Linked DNA regions of Homo sapiens: regions 2, 3, 4, 5 and 6 are each linked to region 1. Evidence: promoter capture Hi-C in 16 types of primary human blood cells and fetal thymus (Javierre and others, 2016). All regions are on one chromosome and are shown on one strand. Each heading gives the region's core, a stretch centred on a gene start or on the middle of the fragment in contact. The rest is flanking DNA. Distances are from core to core; before and after follow the strand shown.

Evidence for each region. Contacts are between HindIII fragments. The CHiCAGO score rates a contact against its expected background, and 5 or more counts as called.
Region 2: a fragment that was not itself captured here is called in contact with the fragment with the promoter of MAP7 in region 1 in 3 of 17 cell types (megakaryocytes, M2 macrophages and M1 macrophages); the score reaches 6.7 in megakaryocytes.
Region 3: a contact is called between a fragment that was not itself captured here and the fragment with the promoter of MAP7 in region 1, in 3 of 17 cell types (megakaryocytes, M1 macrophages and M2 macrophages). The highest score is 5.4, in megakaryocytes.
Region 4: a contact is called between a fragment that was not itself captured here and the fragment with the promoter of MAP7 in region 1, in 1 of 17 cell types (megakaryocytes). The highest score is 5.5, in megakaryocytes.
Region 5: a fragment that was not itself captured here is called in contact with the fragment with the promoter of MAP7 in region 1 in 4 of 17 cell types (M0 macrophages, M2 macrophages, M1 macrophages and 1 more); the score reaches 10.2 in M0 macrophages.
Region 6: a fragment that was not itself captured here is called in contact with the fragment with the promoter of MAP7 in region 1 in 3 of 17 cell types (M2 macrophages, M0 macrophages and megakaryocytes); the score reaches 11.3 in M2 macrophages.

Annotation. Positions count from the first base shown.
Region 1 is chr6:136,549,015-136,551,972 of GRCh38, reverse strand. MAP7 (microtubule associated protein 7) reads left to right here and starts at 1,551. Exons shown (of 18, transcript NM_003980.6): 1 at 1,551-1,631. The coding sequence starts at 1,565. MAP7-AS1 (MAP7 antisense RNA 1) reads left to right here. Exons shown (of 1, transcript NR_186370.1): 1 at 1-1,250. RefSeq lists silencers at 1,250-1,599, 1,640-1,819, 1,830-1,879 and enhancers at 1,101-1,638, 2,177-2,715. The HindIII fragment of the contact is 6,247 bases long and covers 1-2,958 here.
Region 2 is chr6:136,328,625-136,331,617 of GRCh38, reverse strand. No RefSeq gene overlaps it. Among named protein-coding and RNA genes, the nearest start is that of BCLAF1, 40 kb to the right of the region's middle. The HindIII fragment of the contact is 270 bases long and covers 1,451-1,720 here.
Region 3 is chr6:136,345,104-136,347,952 of GRCh38, reverse strand. It overlaps MAP7 (microtubule associated protein 7), which reads left to right. Exons shown (of 18, transcript NM_003980.6): 17 at 1,874-2,097. Among named protein-coding and RNA genes, the nearest start is that of BCLAF1, 57 kb to the right of the region's middle. The HindIII fragment of the contact is 1,377 bases long and covers 728-2,104 here.
Region 4 is chr6:136,295,610-136,298,333 of GRCh38, reverse strand. All of the region lies in intron 2 of LOC124901408 (a long non-coding RNA gene), which reads right to left. Among named protein-coding and RNA genes, the nearest start is that of BCLAF1, 7.1 kb to the right of the region's middle. The HindIII fragment of the contact is 4,373 bases long and covers 1-2,724 here.
Region 5 is chr6:136,312,209-136,315,142 of GRCh38, reverse strand. No RefSeq gene overlaps it. Among named protein-coding and RNA genes, the nearest start is that of BCLAF1, 24 kb to the right of the region's middle. The HindIII fragment of the contact is 1,083 bases long and covers 919-2,001 here.
Region 6 is chr6:136,379,389-136,382,530 of GRCh38, reverse strand. All of the region lies in intron 6 of MAP7 (microtubule associated protein 7), which reads left to right. Among named protein-coding and RNA genes, the nearest start is that of BCLAF1, 91 kb to the right of the region's middle. The HindIII fragment of the contact is 4,133 bases long and covers 1-3,142 here.

The DNA of each region.
Region 1 (2,958 bases), core at 302-2,801:
TTTTTTTTTTTTTTTTTTTTTTTTTTTTTTTTGGTCAAAGAAAGAACTCATTGGTTGATTTAAGTCGGTGGTAAATCAGAAAGTTGAAAATAAATCACCCTCCTTCTCCAGGGTTCTTCCGGATAGTTCAACTCTAAATTCAGCTGAGAGTATTTCTGATGCTCAAAGAAAAGTGTCTTAAACTCTGATGTTTTAATGTAGTTAAAAAAAACACAAAAAATCTTTGCTGAGGCCCAAGCTGAGGTCAAAAACTACCTCTAGCCATCTGGTGCTTTATTTTTATTGATTAGAAGTCTCTGATAAGACTGATTTGAATGTGATTTAGGAATATCACATTCTAAATGGTCAGTTTGCCTATTCCATTATAGAAATGACACTACGGGAAAATTCATCATCACAGACCACAGCAGAAGTGTTCTTTAGTTAAAGCTCTACCTAGTCATCCAGAAAGCCAGTAAGTAAACCAAATAAAAATAGTTCACTGGGCTCAGAGTGGCAAGTTTTGCATGCAAAGATCGTGAAAATTGTAACCCTAACAATAAATCCAATACTGTTCTCGACTCTCTTGTGTGTCCAGTGCTGCTGCAGTCCTTGGAAGGCTTTTAAACTGTTCAGAGCTTGCTGGTTATCTTCAGCCAAGCCAGAGAGTGGGAGTGCAGTGCATTTTAGTGTAACCATGCGGAACTGGTCGCTCCTTGATTTTGTGCCGTATGTTTCCATTTGTGTAGGCTTTTTCCCCCCTCAGTATTTTGTTGCTTATCCTTTAGAGCGAAATTGGTTTTTCCTCGGCCAATAATCTGTTTCTTTAAAAAAAGAAAAATTCGTTACCTATTGCCTTTTTTTCTGGTCTTCCTGAGCAAGCCAGAAGTCACAAGGTCGTTTACTAAACGGAAACTAAGAAAAAGAAAAGCCACATCAGCCGGCACAAGCCTCTCTAACTTGTGTGCCCTGAGGCTCATCAGATGCGAAGTCCTGGCGACAAGATAGGGTCGCCCGCAGTGGCTTCCTAAAGCGCAGATCCAGGCCGGCTCCCAGCGTGGAATCCGACCCATGTACTTCGCCTCTCCACGTGGCATCAGATGCTCTGCCGGCTGTCACCGTGAACTCCAGCCCTCGCGGAGCCGACACTGACCTGGCTACTTCAGAGTTCGGAGGGAAATAGCGTCTCCGTACCCTCGCCCCACCTGGGCTGCTCCTCGGACCGCCGCTCGTCCCAGACTCCAGGAGGCGCCACCAGGCCTCGCTGACCCCGCTCCATATCTCCGGGAGCCCTCAGCTGGTCGGCCGCGGCGACCGGAAGCTCCGGACTGAGGTACTGGTTCCGCCCGCCGCTCTTCCAGCCGAGACTCGGCAGCGGCGGTCGGAGCGGCTGCCACGCCGCACCTGCCCGCGAGGGGGCGCGCCAGGCCCAGGCCGCAGCCGACTGCCGCGCTCTCTGTCCCCGCCCTCCGCCATCCCCGGACTGCGCTCACCTGTCTGGGCCGCTGGCCTGGGAGGCGGGGGCCGGCGGGAGCCAAGCCGAGGAAAGGGCGGAGCGGCTCTCCGGGCGCGTCATCGGAGCACCATGGCGGAGCTAGGAGCTGGCGGCGACGGCCACAGGGGCGGCGACGGCGCAGTGCGAAGCGAAACAGGTGACCGCACAGCGGGGATAGTGGGGGTCCCGTCGGGCAGGGGACGGCGAGCGGGGCCGGCGGGCTGGCACCGAAATCACCCGGCGCCGGCAGCCCCCTCCCCGCCCGCGCGGCCGCGGCCCGGAACAACCGGCCCTGCGCGCCGCGCACCCTGCTCCGAGAGCGCCTTCCCCCGCCCTTCGCCGCCGCGGCTCGGCCAGCCCGGCTCGGCCCCGGCCGGGGTTGCGGCCGCCCTCGGGCGCTCCACCGCGACTTTCCCGCAACAGGTGGAGGCGAGCCGGGGGAGGAAACGGAGAGACCCCGGCCGCTGCCCTCCCCGCCGCGGCCTCGGGTCTAATTCAGTTGAATGGGAAATCGTATCCCCCAGACCAAACCAGTGGCCAGAGAGTCGTCGGCCAGGTGCGACTGGCAGGACGAGCAGTTTCTGGGCACCTCCTCCCGCCTTCCCTGGTCGCCCCGGGTGCCGGGGGCTCCTCAGCGGGGTCGGTGTGGGGCAGGACCGCGGGGTGAGCGGCCCGCCCCCCAATCTGGTGCCCGCAGTGGCGACGACCGTCGTCCGAGGGGACCGAGCTCGGGAGGGCCGGGGCCCAGTGCAGCACGGTGGGGGTTTGCGAGTGCGGGCTTGACGGGATCAGACTTTCGTTGACTTGTCGGAGTTCTCAGAGTTTTTTGTTTTTAGTCTGTGCAGGAGCCCAAAGGAGGATTGTTGGCTCTGCAGCCCGGGATTTGGTGGTCAGGCCTCTGTGTTGAGGATACCCCTCCCCCACAACCTCCAGGGGCACACTTAGGGACAGGGGATCACGTCCCCAAGACCAGCAGCAAGGCTTCCCAAGACCAGCAGCAAGGCTTCCCAACCCCGCCCATCTCTCCATAGTATGAAGCCGATTTTTCTCCCTCGTGATTTTTTTTTCTCCAGAGGCTATCTTGCAAATCCGTCCCTCTCCACTGGTTCCCTCTTCTATTCTTGGCCAGTAAGCTGTTTCTATATCTTCCTACACTTGGGGATGGGGGCAGTGAGGCAGTTTCTTACTTTAAAAAGAAATTCAATTCTTAGACTCTCCAATTGCAAGCTGTTTTCCACTTCCATACGGTCACAATCGGAAGCATTTGTTTCCTAAATGTAAGAATCACTGTCTCCCCACCATCAAGTATGCTTATTTTAACGTGAAAGGTCCAGAGAGCTCTGAAACAGTATTTGCAAATTATGTATCTGCTATTGCTAGGAAGAGGTTGGGTACGTAAAGTCTAATGATTTAATCCCTTCAGCCAAGATACCTGAGGTTAAGACTGACAAAGTATCTTGAACTTGTTTAAGTCATGCTCCTTC
Region 2 (2,993 bases), core at 336-2,835, 220 kb after region 1:
AATACTCAGCCTCAGTTGCCTTCTTGCTTTGAAGGCTCACTCAATTCAAACGCCACACAGGCCATCATGTAAGGAAAGCAACAGTGTCACTTAGACTTTGAGCTTTCCTCTGCCTAATTCCTGAGTTTTCCTGTTATAGGATCATGCATGAGTGATCCCCACTCAAATCCTCAAGACATGAGAAAGATCCACCCCCAAACTCCCAGTTCTACCTGGAAGTTTTCCTGATTATAGTTTTCCTGTTATCTCCCTTCTGCCACCTATCTTTCTCTATATCAATGGGAGAATATCAGAAATATGGGACAGAGACATCTGGAAGCCTGAACAAATACATACTCATATGTTGGGTCTCACTCTGTCACCCAGACTGGAGTGCAGTGCATAATCACAGCTCACTGCAGCCTTGACCTCCTGGGCTCAGGTGATCCTCCCACCTCAGCCTCATGGGTAGCTGGGACTACGGGCTTTGCTCCACCACACACACCTAATTTTTTGTAATTTTTGTAGAGATGAAGTTTCACCATGTTGCCCAAGTTGTTCTCAAACTTCTGAACTCAAGCAATTCACCCACGTTGGCCACCCAAACTGCTGGGATTACAGACATGAGCCACTGCATCCAGCTGCTAGCCACTTCTTATGAAATATATTTTGAGACGGTGTCTCGCTCTGTTGCTCAGGCTGGAGTGCAGTGCTGCAATCAGCTCACTGCAGCCTTGAACTCCTGGCCTCAAACAATCCTCCTGCCTCTGTCTCCCAAAGTGCTGGGATTACAGGCATGAGTCACCACACACAGTCTGATCTAACTCTTACCATCTAATGCATGGACCCTGCTCAAAACCTTTTGTTGTTTCCCCATAGCTTTCAGCTCATGGAGGCCTTTAAAAGGAGATTCATCGGTCAGGTGCAGTGGCTCACGCCTGTAATCCCAACACTTGGGGAAACCGATGCGGGCGGATCACAAGGTCAGGAGATCGAGGCCATCCTGGTCAACATGGTGAAACCCCGTCTCTACTGAAAATACAAAAATTAGCTGGGCATGGTGGCACATGCCTGTAATCCCAGCTACTCAGGAGGCTGAGGCAGGAGAATCGCTTGAACCAGGGAGTCGGAGGTTTCAGAGAGCCAAGATCACACCACTGCACTCCAGAGTGAGACTCCGTCTCAAAAACAAAACAAAACAAAGGAAACAAACAACAAAAACGGAGATCCATCAACCGATTTTGACTCAAGGTAGATGAATACTTGTGACCTAAAAAAAGGAAAAGGAAAATATTACATAACGTCTAACACTTTTTTTTCATATTAAACAGAGACCCAAAAAATGCATGTAAAACTTTTGAATAGTTAGGTTTTTAATGTAAATCAGTTTCTTTCTCTTATGTGGAGATACGACTAATAAGAATGTTGTTAAGATTTATTTTATCTCTAAGCTTTGATGAATTTTGAAGCTTAGTGGTAACTGCCTTTGCAAATTTTTATCCTGGCCTAGGGAGTTCTAAAAAATTTCCTATATTCAATAGAGATACAATTATAATAGCTATCATTCGTTGTGTTTACTATGTGCTGGGCACTGTAGCTGTATATGCATAGCTCCTTTAATCCTATTGTGGTTATTATCCTCTGAGACCGAGAGAAGGAAAGAATTCTGTGAATGTTGCACAGCTCCTGAGTACATGGCCAGGGCTACAGCCCAGGTCTGTCTGCCTCCAGAGCCCAAGCTTACAACCACTGCTCCATCTGTGATGTGTCCTCCAAAATGAGTTCACTGAAATCCATGTGCTCTGCTGCATGTGAAGAGAATTATTGCTTTAGTTTAACAGTCAATTCTTGCAAAAAAAGGAGCCGGCAGTTTTAATTAAACACAGAGAAACTGAACAAATAAGCAAATATATTGGAGATAATTGGAGTCAGGTTTCTCATTCTCAGGCAGTGTAGTTACAAATATGGAAAGAGGAAAGGCTAAAATAAACCCCATAGTGTTGAACTGGCTTTGCAGGTATTGATGTGAATGCACAGTTTCTAACAGATTTATGTGTGTACATATGTGTATGCAAGCATTTATCTCTAAGCTCTGTCCACTGAGAGGGCCTAGAAGCAATGACAATCCCTCGTAATGAACATACCTAGGGCCTAGATATTGGTTACTGAATATCATCCTCCACTAAAGGAACCAGGGCTCTTTGGAGAAATGGCTGATGATAGGCTGGGAGCAGGGAAAGTATAAGATTGATTTGGTACATCTTATGTCCCAGAAAGTAAGACTATGCCCCCAAAATTACGAAAACCTGCCAAAATGACAAAGGAACCAGTCTAAAAGGCCTTCTAATGGCTAAATCTAGGACAAATTGAGCACCAAAATAATATTGATAGTCATAGATTGTGACTCATTGAATAAAAGACAATCTTTGAGGCCATACTGATATAAATTAATACATGAATTAAAAAGAAGGAAAAGATGTAATTCACAATTAAATTCCAGGTAATAAAGACAGAAAGAATGATGGAGTTTTAAAACTACATTTTGCAATTACACTAATAATTGATTCAGGCAATAATCATCAATGAATTCCACAAATGAGTGAGTGAAAATCTGATGAGAAACAGCATGTGTATGTTGTCTTACAGTACCTTTCCACAAGATACCTAACCTTTATTTATTCAAAAAGTACAAAATACTTTTCAATTAACTTTAAAGTATTTATTCAAAAAGTACAAAATACTTATCAATTAACTTTAAAGTAGAGGAATCTGGCAAATATCATTTTAACCAATGGATAAATGTTAACCCTAGTCCTAGTCATGGGACAAAGACACACGTGTGCCTCCTCATACAATACACTGAGAAATCATGGCATTTTGGTGTTCCTGCCAAAAATGCATAACCTGAATTTGATGACAAGGAGACATCAGACAATCCCAAAGTAAAGAGCATTTTATAAAGTAACAGGCGTGTACTCTTCAAAAATGTTAAAGCTATGCAAGGTAAAGAAAGA
Region 3 (2,849 bases), core at 167-2,666, 200 kb after region 1:
CTTCCCTTCTTAGTAAAATAGCAGAAAAGCATCATCACACTGTATAATATTTCAGATTATTTTACAAATAATGTTTTCAGTGTATTCTGCAATGCCTTGTGAGACACTTAGGACAGGCATCTTCATTTTTTCCGTAAAAAAGGAAGGTTTAATAATTTTAAAAATACACAAATATTCAAATCAGAAATGCTTTAGTATGTGTTCCAAAGTCAATACTTCTCACTCAGTAGAGAAAGTAAACTATTTTGACTGGGCGTGGTGGCTCATGGCTGTAATCCCAGCACTTTGGGAGGCCGATGGGGGCAGATCACTCGAGGCCAGGAGTTCGAGACCATCCTGGCCAACACGAAGAAACCCTTTCTCTACTAAAAATACAAAAATTAGCTAGGCATGGTGGCTTGCCCCTGTAGTCCCAGCTATTTGGGAGGCTGAGACTCAGGAACCACTTTAACCCAGGAGGCAGAAGTTGGAGTGAGCTGAGACTGTACCACTGCACTCCAGCCTGGGCAACAGAGTGAGACCCTTCTCAAAAAAGGAAAAAGAAAGTAAACTATTTATTCAATCAGGCAAAAAAAAAGCAAAGTGTTAAAAAGCAATAGAAAGGTTGGATTTACATTAGCATTGTTTTACAATTTGAGAAGACAAACTGACTTGCTAACAATGTTCAAGCAGTTGGTATTACTGAGACTAAGGTTAATTTGTTGAGCATTGAACAAGTTTTGAAGCTTGCACACATATGTATATGCTGCAATGAAATAAAATGAATGGTAAAATTAGTTTAGCACTCATTTGATGCATAGGCATTATTTGGCTACATTGTAAAGCATAATAATAAGCCTATAACAGAGAGTGGTAATCTAAGACAAACCATAGAAGATTAAGTATTTGGGGCCAATTAAGTATATCTCAAAAATAAATCCAAGATATTAAGCATGAATTCATAAGGATCAAGATGAGGTCAGAGGCAGATTTAAGGGGCAAAGATAAGAAGATCGGTCTTCAAAAATTTACATATGAAATTATGCAAGGGCTTTAGGAGGCTGGAATATCTAGAAAGTGTGCGAAATGGCTTAATGAGAAAAACACAGGACCAGAGATTAAGAGATCGTGCATTTAGCCTCAACTATCTCTCAGTAGTTGTGTGACTTTGTGCAAATCATTTACTCCCCCCTCCAAATTATAATCCCCTCATCTTTGAGGCAAAGGTCCTCATAAGTGGTACTCTATCAGATGAATATAAAAATGCCTGCAGCAGAAATCATTAAATGTGTAGAACTGCTGCTGATGATGATTTATTTCTATTAATGATGATCTGTTGTAATTGATAAATTGTTCTATTTGATAATTTTCATAACAAAATGACAGATTTAAAATTTTTTTGTTGTTGTTTAGAGACAGGGTCTTACTCCATAGCCCAGGCTGGAATGCAGTGGTGCCATCATAGCTCACTGAAGCCTCAAACTCCTGAGCTCAAGTGATCCTCCCACCTCGACTGCCAGAGTAGCTTGGACTACTGGTGCGTGCCACCACACACAGCTAATTTTTTTCTTTTGTAGAGACGGGGGTCTTGCTATGTTTACCAGGCTAGTCTTGAACTCCTGGCCTTGAGCAGTCCTCCCATCTCGGCCTCCCAAAGCGCTAGGATTACAGGCATGAGCCACTGTGCCTGACCTAGATTTTTTAAAATAAGAATTTAAGGTACAAATACACCACAATTTATTATTTTTGTTAGTAATGATGTGACTCACCAGTCTGATTTTTTTAATTGTAGATTTATAAAATTATTCATTATAAAACATTTTGGTTTTCCTAATAATGTGTTTTCCAGTTTTAAGACTAACTTATTTCTATTTTTATTTTTCAAATTCCTTAGCACTCCCGATTTGGAAAAACAACCAAATGAAAATGGTGTATCTGTTCAGAATGAAAATTTTGAAGAAATTATAAACTTACCCATTGGATCTAAACCATCCAGATTAGATGTCACCAACAGTGAGAGCCCAGAAATTCCTTTGAATCCAATTTTGGCCTTTGATGATGAAGGGACACTTGGGCCCCTGCCTCAGGTAGATGGTGTTCAGACACAGCAGACTGCAGGTAAGCTTGCCTCCAACTCCCTTCTGTAGTCATCAGAAATATCTGACACCCAGGAGGACACGAACTGCTGCCTTCTACAGTATGATTGTGGTAACACTTTGTTCTTCAAAGGACCAAGTAAGCCACAGTGGAAGAGATTGTGCCTGGCTCATAGAAATTGAATTTTGAGTTGGATTGGACAACTTCTAAGGCCTCTCCTATTCTCTCAGTCAGTGCAGAAGTCCAGTCCGCAGCACCCAGTGGGTGTCTGTCAGCCTCTCTGCACAGAGCAGCACCCATTACCCGACATCATGCATGCTCAGAATATGCTTTGTAGAAAGACAGGGCTGTCTCCCCATAATTTTGGACCATCCGGCCTAGTGCTGCCCACTAGAGAAAGATCTGAGTTTTTTCCATCTTTCTGAGGTCTTCATGTATTTGAAGACTGCCATCATGTTCTCCCACCATTTTTCTCTTATTTGGGTTTGGCAACCTGGGTAATAAATTATTGTCCTTTCAAAATGTGACATGATGGATAGTTACGATTTAGGTGATGAAACCAGTACTCACACTGAGTCTAAAGATCTTAACTTGTTAAATGATTTTGTTGCTGTTGAAACTGCCTGTGACTTTCTTATACAATGTCTCTTTGACCCACACTTGACCTGAAGTCTTTGTGCAAAAAGAACAATCAGGACCCAAAGAAAGAAGACATAATATCAAATATTACTAACTCAGTGGTCATAGCAGCTCAGCAACGCAATCCCATCAGT
Region 4 (2,724 bases), core at 128-2,627, 250 kb after region 1:
CAGCCCGGCCAACATGGTGAAACCCCGTCTCTACTAAAAATACAAAAATTTGCCAGGCGTGGTGGTGCATGCCTGTAATTCCAGCTACTTGGGGGGCAGAGGCAGGAGAATTGCTTGAACCTGGGAGGTGGAGGTTGCAGTGAGCTGAGATCGTGCCACTGCACTCCAGCCTGGGCAACAGAGCGAGACTCTGTCTCAAAAAACAAAAACAAGACCTCTCAGTTTTTAGGTCTTCATTATCTTACACAATTCAAATAAAATTCAATGGTCTACATTTTTAAAAGTTTTTTGATATTAATATTATGAAAGTAATTTTTATTGTAGAAATTTTAGAAAATACAGAAGAGCAAAGGAAGAAAATGTTTTAAAAATTGCCAGTGATGTGGCCATTCAATATATACACAGAACAGTATCATTTTGAGGTTGATTCTTCTGTTTCTACATAGATAGATAAATTTTTAAATGAGATTTTTAAAATGACTTATTTATTTATTTTTAGAGATAGTCTCCCTATGTCACCCAGGCTGGAGTGCAACTTCAAGGGACCCTAAGCCAGAACCACCCAAATAATCACTCTCAGATTTCTGATCCACAGGAGCTGTGAGATAGTAAACATTAAGCTGGTAAATTTGGGGTCATTCATTACGCAGCAGTAGACAACCAATACATTTGATTTCACTTATTTCCTACTTCATAGGCTGTTCTCAGTCTCCTTTATTGGCTCCGCCTCCTCTTTTAACAAATCTCTAAATGTTGGGATTCTTTAGGGTTCACTCCTAGGCTGTCTTCTCTTGTCTCCCTATATTTCTCATCCTGTGATTTTATCTTATTTTATTTTATTTTTTTTTAGAAAGGGTCTCGCTCTGTCACCCATGCTGGAGTGCAGTGGTGCAATCATGGCTCACTGCAGTCTCAACATCCTGGGCTCTAGAAATCCTCCTGCCTCAGCCTTCCAAGTAGATGGGACTACAGTTGTGCACCACCACACCCAACCAATTTTTAAACTTTTAATAGAGACGGGGTCTCCCTATGTTGCCCAGGCTGGTCTTGAAGTCCTAGGCTCAAGCCATTCTCCTGCCTTGGCATCCCAAATTGTTGGGATTACAGGTGTGAGCCAATGCGCCAAGCCTCATCCAATAATTCTAAATATAATCTTTTTGCTTTATCTCTTGGCTAGAACTCACCTCTGAACCACGGATGCACACATTTAACTTCATACCTTGCCTCTGTACTTAAAAGTTTCACACACATATCAAGCCTAATATATTCAAAATGGAATTCCTGATTTCCTTCCCTTTTCCCAATCTGTTTCATTCTTCCCTTCCCTATCATTCTCTCTAATCTTTCCAATTATTATAATGGTATCAGGCCGGGCGCTGTGGCTCACACCTGTAATCCCAGCACTTTGGGAGGCCGAGGCGGGTGGATCAAGAGGTCAAGACCATCCTGGCTAACATGGGGAAACCCAGTCTCTACTAAAAATACAAAAATTAGCCGGGCGTGGTGGTGCGCGCCTGTAGTCTCAGCTACTCGGGGGGCTGAGGCAGGAGAATCGCTTGAACCCGGGAAGCGGAGGTTGCAGTGAGCTGAGATCGTGCCACTGCACTCCAGCCTGGCGATAGTGGGAGACTCTGTCTCAAAAAAACCAAAAAAACAAAAAAACAGAAAAAAAAAATCACGGATCATTAGAGAAAAGCAAATAAAAACCACAATGAGATATCATCTCATACCAGTCAGAATGGCTACTCTTAAAAAGTCAAAAAAATACCAGATGCTGGCGAGGTTGTGAAGAAAAAGAAATTCGATATACTGTTGGTGAGAGTGTAAATTAGTTCAGCCATTGTGGAAGGCAGTGTGGTGATTCCTCAAAGATCTAAAAACAGAAATATTTGACCCAGGCAGGGCACAGTGGTTCACACCTGTAATCCCAGCACTCTGGGAGGCCGAGGTGGGTGGATCATGAGGTCAGGAGTTCAAGACCAATATGGTGAAACCCCATCTCTACTAAAAATACAAAAATTAGCCAGGCGTGGTGGTGCGCACCTATAGTCCCAGCTACTCAGGAGGCTGAGGCAGGAGAATCATTTGAACCTGGGAGGCAGAGATTGCAGTGAGCCGAGATCGCGCCACTGCACTCCAGCCTGGGCAACAGAGCGAGACTCCATCTCGAATATAAAAAAGAAAAAAAAAAAAAGAAATATTTGACCCAGCAATGCCATTACTGGGTATATACCCAAATAAATACAAATTGTTCTATTATAAAGAGAACATGCACACATATGTTCATTGCAGCACTAGTCACAGTAGCAAAGACATGGAATCAACCTAAATGTCCATCAGTGATGAACTGGATAAAGAAAATGTGGTACATATACACCACAGAATACTATGCAGCCATAAAAAAATAATGAGATCATGTCTTTTACAGGAACAGGGATGGAGCTGGAGGCCATTATCCCTAGCAAACTAACACAGCAACAGTAAACCAAATACATGTTCTCACTTATAAGTGGGAGCTAAATGATGAGAACACATACATGGACACGCTGAGGGGAAGAACACATGCTAGGGCCTTTAGGAAGGTGAGGGTGGGAGGAGGAAGAGGATGAGTAAAAACAACTAATGGGTACTAGGCTTAATACCTTGGTGATGAAATAACCTTTACAACAACCCCCCAGGATGCAAGTTTACCTGCGTAACAAATCTGCACTTGTACTCCTGAAC
Region 5 (2,934 bases), core at 211-2,710, 240 kb after region 1:
TTTATGAAAAGGATAGTATGCTTTATGTAAATATGCTGAGACTTTTTTAACTTCATATTGGTAAGATTCATCCATATTGTTGCATGTTGCTATATTTCATTCATTTTGGTTGCTTTATTCAAGACTGCAGTGAGCTGTGATAGTGCCACACCACTCCAGCCTGGGTGACAGAGACCCTGTCTCTAAAAAATAAATTTAAAAAATTCCCTGTATATGTTTTATGTATGTTTTGCTAGAATTTTTTTCTAGGCTCCTAATAGTCTCTGAAGTATTACAAATGAGGTCTTCTTTCTAATTTCAATCTCTAGTTGTTTGTTGCTGGTGTTTGGAAATGCAACTGTCTTGCTAATTTGCTAACCTTTCCTATTTCGAATATATCACCTGTAAATTCTTTTTTTTTTGGTGGGGGAGGGGAGTAAGGGTAGGATGGAGTCTTGCTCTGTTGCCCAGGCTGGAGTGCAGTGGCACCATCATAGCTCATTGTAGCCTCAAACTCCTGGGCTCAAGAGATCCTCCTACCTCAACCTCCCCAGTAGTTGGGACTACAGGCGTGAACCATCGCATTTGGTTAATTTTTAAGTTTTTTGTAGAGACGAGGTCTTGCTATGTTTCCCAGGTTTGTCTCAAACTCCAGGACTCAAGTGATCCTCCTTGATCCACCTGGATCCACCTCCAGGTCTCAAGTGATACTCTTGAAGTATTAGGGTTACAGGAGTGAGCCACCATACCTGGCCTATAAATTATCTTATTTGTTCTGTGTAAATAATAATGCCGTCTATAAATAAAATGGTTTATCTTTATGATTCTAATTTTTTATTGCTATTGAGGAGTGGTAAGAGTGAACATCTCGTTTCATTTTTGCTTTAAAGAAGATATTTCTGGTGTTTTCCCATACAGAATGATGTTTGCTTAAAAGCTTTTTATAGACATTTTTATGAGGTTAAGGAAACTGGCTATATTTTTGATTTGTTAAAAGTTTGTATTATGAATTTATATTGGATTTTATCAGCATAAACTTGAGATCATCACAAATCTTCTCTTTTCTTAATCTGCTATTATGGTGAATTATATCTATAGTTTTTCTGATATTAAACTAACATATGGATGCCTGAGATAAACCCAATTGGGCAAGGGTATCACCTTCCCTGTGCATTGTTGAATTTAATTTCCTTTTTTTTTAAGGATTCTTGAATCTACATTTATGAGTAAAATGAGCCTATAGCTTTTTACTCTGATAATGTCTTTTCCTGGTTTGGTAACAAAGTTATGCTAACCTTTAAAAAGGACTGGGATGTATTCCCCTTTATAGTACAGCAATAAATATGTATTTGTGTATTACATATATGTTACTTCCAGTGTTCATGTTGACAATATTGTTATCAATTTGATTCTTGTCCCATTGTCTGTGATATGCTCTACTAGAGAATAAAGGAGGAAGAGCCCCTTCTCTAAGTGCCATCTGTCAGCCTTGGGGGTTTGTCCCAAAGTGCGGGGAGGTGACTATTCCAGGTAGTCATTCTCCACCTGTTGTCCTCAGCTACCACCCCTTCAGAGTTTGTGCAGTCAACTGATTTTACTCCTGAGGACTGATTTTACTCCTGAAGCAGCAGTTGGAGTCACTACAGGTGCGAGGCAGGCATTGACTGCCCAAGAAAAAGGAGGAGGAAAAGCGATTGTTCTCTTGGGTTCTTCTCTCTTTCCCTTCTCTATTTTTTCTCCATGTATTTATTTATCCTCTCCTCTCTTTCTTTCTCACTTTCCCTGAAAAGTAAATGCCTTTTGGATGATAACAATCTTTTCCTGACTGTGGTCTATCAGGAAGCATGCCGCGTCTTCGAATCCTTTCAGGTTTTCTAAATGGAGCAATGCAAGGAGAATCCCCACCCAAGAGTGAGGGCAGGGGCAAGTTTCCTGACAGGCAGTCAGCTTTGTTTCACCATCTCCTCCTGGGTATCTCTGTTGAATCACCAATGCCACTTCCCTGTAGACTCTAGGGAAGCTTGACTCACCTACAGATACTGCACAAGTCCTTTAAATCTCTATTGTTATTAATTCCTTTTAATTTGTGTTTAGTCACTTTATTGGCTACTCCTACAATTTATAATAATAGTAATGATAATAGTAGTTGTGGAGGTAGTAGTACTAGTAATAGTGATAGTATTATCTCTATATTATTATTATTATTATTATTATTATTATTATTATTTTGAGACAGGGTCTTGCTCTGTTGCCCAGGCTGGAGTGCAGTGGTGCAGTCTCGGCTCACTGCAACCTCCGCCTCCTGGGTTCAAGCGATTTTCATGCCTCAGCCTCCCAAGTAGCTGGGATTACAGGTGCCTGCCACCATGCCCGGCTACTTTTTGTATTTTTAGAAGAGATGGGGTTTTACCATGTTGGCCAGGCTGGTCTCGAACGCCCACCTCAGTCTCCCGAAGTGCTGGGATTACAGGTGTGAGCCACTGTGCCAGGCTAGTATTACCCCTATATTATATTGAGGGGTTACTCTGTTCCAGACACTATACTAAGTGTTTTACATGGATTATTTAATTCACGTATATGTATGAATTTAGAACTTTTTGGATTTTAGTTAGGTAATATATTGCATATAATATATAGTATGGAACTCAATCAGCAGGGTCTAGGTAACAACTTGTAATCAAGTAAATGTGTATATCTGCAGTGAAATGTGTGACTATACTAAATTACATAGAGACTACAAGTAGCCTCAAATCATTTCAGATCAGGTCTGTGACCAAATGAATCCAGGTATGGTTGGGTTTTGGCACAAAAAGTCTTAGAAAGAAACTTGCAGTTTTTAGAGAATTTTTGATTTTGGATCCACAGGTAAGGAACTGTGGACCTACAGCATAATTATTTCACAGATGATACAATTAAGACCACAAAAGAGCAGTAAAGATCAGGTGGTAGTAGTAG
Region 6 (3,142 bases), core at 403-2,902, 170 kb after region 1:
CCTTTCATAAATATTGTGAATTTAAATTTCTTTCATATTCTTTATTTTCAAACCTATTCCCTAAATATAAGACAAAATATAGCATGTGAATGTTACTCTTACAGTTGTCTATTCATCTTTTCTTTGCAGTTGGTCACTTAGCACTTTAGTTTCATACTTTTGTGAACCTGGATCTGAGACAAACTACAATTAGTATTTTACACTTCTTTAAAACTTTATTATCTTCTACAATCCCATAGCTGAAATTAGGGTAAGGGTGGGAGTAGGGAGCTAGACAACAAACTTGGCAATATCCTGTCCATGCTGTGGAATGACATTGAATTGTCTGTATCAATTAGAAAGATGTATTCTAGACTCTCTGCACGATAGACCTTCTTAAGGCAGTAGAATCTTGGAACTGAAAAAGATCTACTGGATAGATCACCTACTCTAGTTGGGGTGATAGAGTCCCTAAGAGGTTGCGAGCCTCTCTTTAATGTCCTACAGGCTAATTATTGCAGAAGGGTGACTCCTCACCCGTGTGACCGCCACACTGCATCCTCAGTTCTCACCTTCATGGGTGTCCTTTCTTAGATTGACTCTGACTCCATGCATTCTCTCTCTCTCTCTCTGTGTGTGTGTGTGTGTGTGTGTGTGTGTGTGTGTGTGTGTGTAAGGTTAGAAGTGGTAAGGAGTAGAGAATTAGGACATAGGACATCAGCGTTAAGGGAAGTTCAATAACCAGTTCATAGAGGGGGCCAGAAAACTGCCCTATGAATCATGGTAGAGGCCCAGAAAATAGAATACTAAGCAGAAATAATAGGACAAGAGGGAGAACGCTAGATTTGAGAGTTCTGCTTCTCTGCCTCCTTACCAAAGAACTGTCAATCAGTTCCTGGTCTAGCAGGCCAGGTCAGCCTGAAGGGGCTCCCATATATTGTCTAGGAAGGAATTTTTTTCTTTTTAACTTAAGCAAAGCCCTCAGTAGAACCCTGAAAGGCTTAGGCCTTTTATTATAGTGAGAATTTTAAAACTTCTTCTGAATTTAAATTTCTCTAATTTAGAAATTTAAGGCCAGGCACAGTGGCTCACACCTGTATTTCCAGCACTTTGGGAGGCCAAAGTGGGTGAATCATTTGAGCCCCAGGAATTTGAGACCAGCCTGGGCACCATCGCGAAACCCCATCTCTACTAAAAATACAAAAATTAGCCAAGCGTGATGGTGTGCACCTGTAGTCCTAGTTACTCGGGGGCTGAGGCAGGGGGATCACCTAAGCCTTGGGAGGTCAAGACTGTGGTGAGCTATGATTGTACCACTGTACTCCAGCCTGGGCAATAGAGTGAGATCGTATCTCAAAAAGAAAATAATTAAAAATAAATAAAAGAAATTTAAGTAATTCCATTAGTTCTTTCCTGCTATTTTTAAAAGTTAGTTATACTTTATTATCTCATTAGAAAGCATTCTTACCAGATTGTTAAATTAGAGGACCTTATAGACAAATGGGTCAAGCAGGTATATACATCATTATTAGATTGTTTGAGCTTTCTCAGTCCTAAGGCATAGGCCTTAAAGCTGAGATTAAATTGAGGCTCCGATACCATCAGGGCTCATGTTCTGCTGTAATATATCCAAAGAGCTCTACTAGTTATTAAAAATACTGAAATATTTCCATATCACTTTTCCAAGATGTGCTTCCCCGGGCCCTCCAAAGCCAAGGGAAGCCAGTCATTAGTGTAGTGTCTGTGCCTTGTCAGTTTTTAAATATTTTAATTATTACACCTGAATATGGTGTTACATGGACTGATAAGATTACTTTGGTTAAAAGAAACCTCTGATTATGAAAGGTTTCTGTAATTGCTGGAACAGAATGTTGCCACTGGAAATTTTTACATTAAAAGTATATATTATTATCTTTAAGCTATCTGCTTAACCAACTTTTTCTCAAGAAAGAATATTAGGAAGTTGGAAAAGAGTAAGAAAAATTGCCTACTTTTTGCTTAAAATCCATCAATACATTTTTTCCCCAGAATCTTCATCATAGGACTCAGAGGTAGACCTCGAAATAAATTCTGCTCACAGGCTTGTTCTGTTTTACCTGAGCAGTGTTGTTTGTTCTTGTTTTAATTAGAATTAATTGCCAACACTTAAAATATAGAATACTTCATGTAACATTTCAGTTTTCTACTTCTAAAGAAAAAATCAGGACCTGGCAACATGTGTCTAATTTCTTCCTGGCACCTATTACCTGAAATGGAATAGTGATGTCACGCTTATGGGAGGAAGTGGTAAGGCAGGTATCCATAAAGTTTGTTTAGCCCCGATCATTTATTTATGTTAACTTGCATGGCCCCCAGAGGCCTTTGAGTTTGCCTCTCTTCATCTGGGTGGCCTATAATGGAAATTGTCAATATCTCAATTTTAAGTGCTTAAATAGGATCGATGCCATAGCGTTGTTCCATGAGAGTTAATATCTCTCCCTTCGGTTTGGTAATCTTAAAATCAGGCCCCTCTAGGGGAAAAAAACAAACTAACAAAACAAAAAACAACAACAACAACAATGCACCAATTCTCCTTTATTAACCTTTACTAAAAAGTTATCTTACGGACGCTCTGTCTCCATCTTGGTCAAGGCATAGTTATGAATGTGGTGGAAGTGGAAACATGTTTCTCCTAGCAATATGTTTAGTTCAGAGTATCAGGAGATATGAAACAGATCTCTCTGGATTTGCTTTACCACAGGTTACAATGGGTTTTTAATCATTTGAGATAAATTTTTTGGTCGATGCCTTCAGACTCATGGAAATAAAGTAACTGAACTTCTTAATGGAGAAAGGAGACTTATCTTTTCCATGACAACCCATCTCTGCAGTTGTAAGCCACAGTCATCGTACAGTTTTTCTAAGAAAAGGAAGAGTTTAACTTTCTTCCCTTTCTCATCTCTTGAAAATAGTTCTGTGGAAGATTTTCAGTTAGTCCTAATCACCTTTTCCCCACTGATTTTACCCTGTACATGTATTCTAATTTTAGATTGTATTCTATTCTGTTGTTACACTGCTGCACATAGCTTATGATAGTACTTAGCCCGTGGTGCTTTCTAATTGTAACTATTGCAGTAGTTTTTATAACATCTTTTTAATTAATCTTAATGTCAGATAATATTTA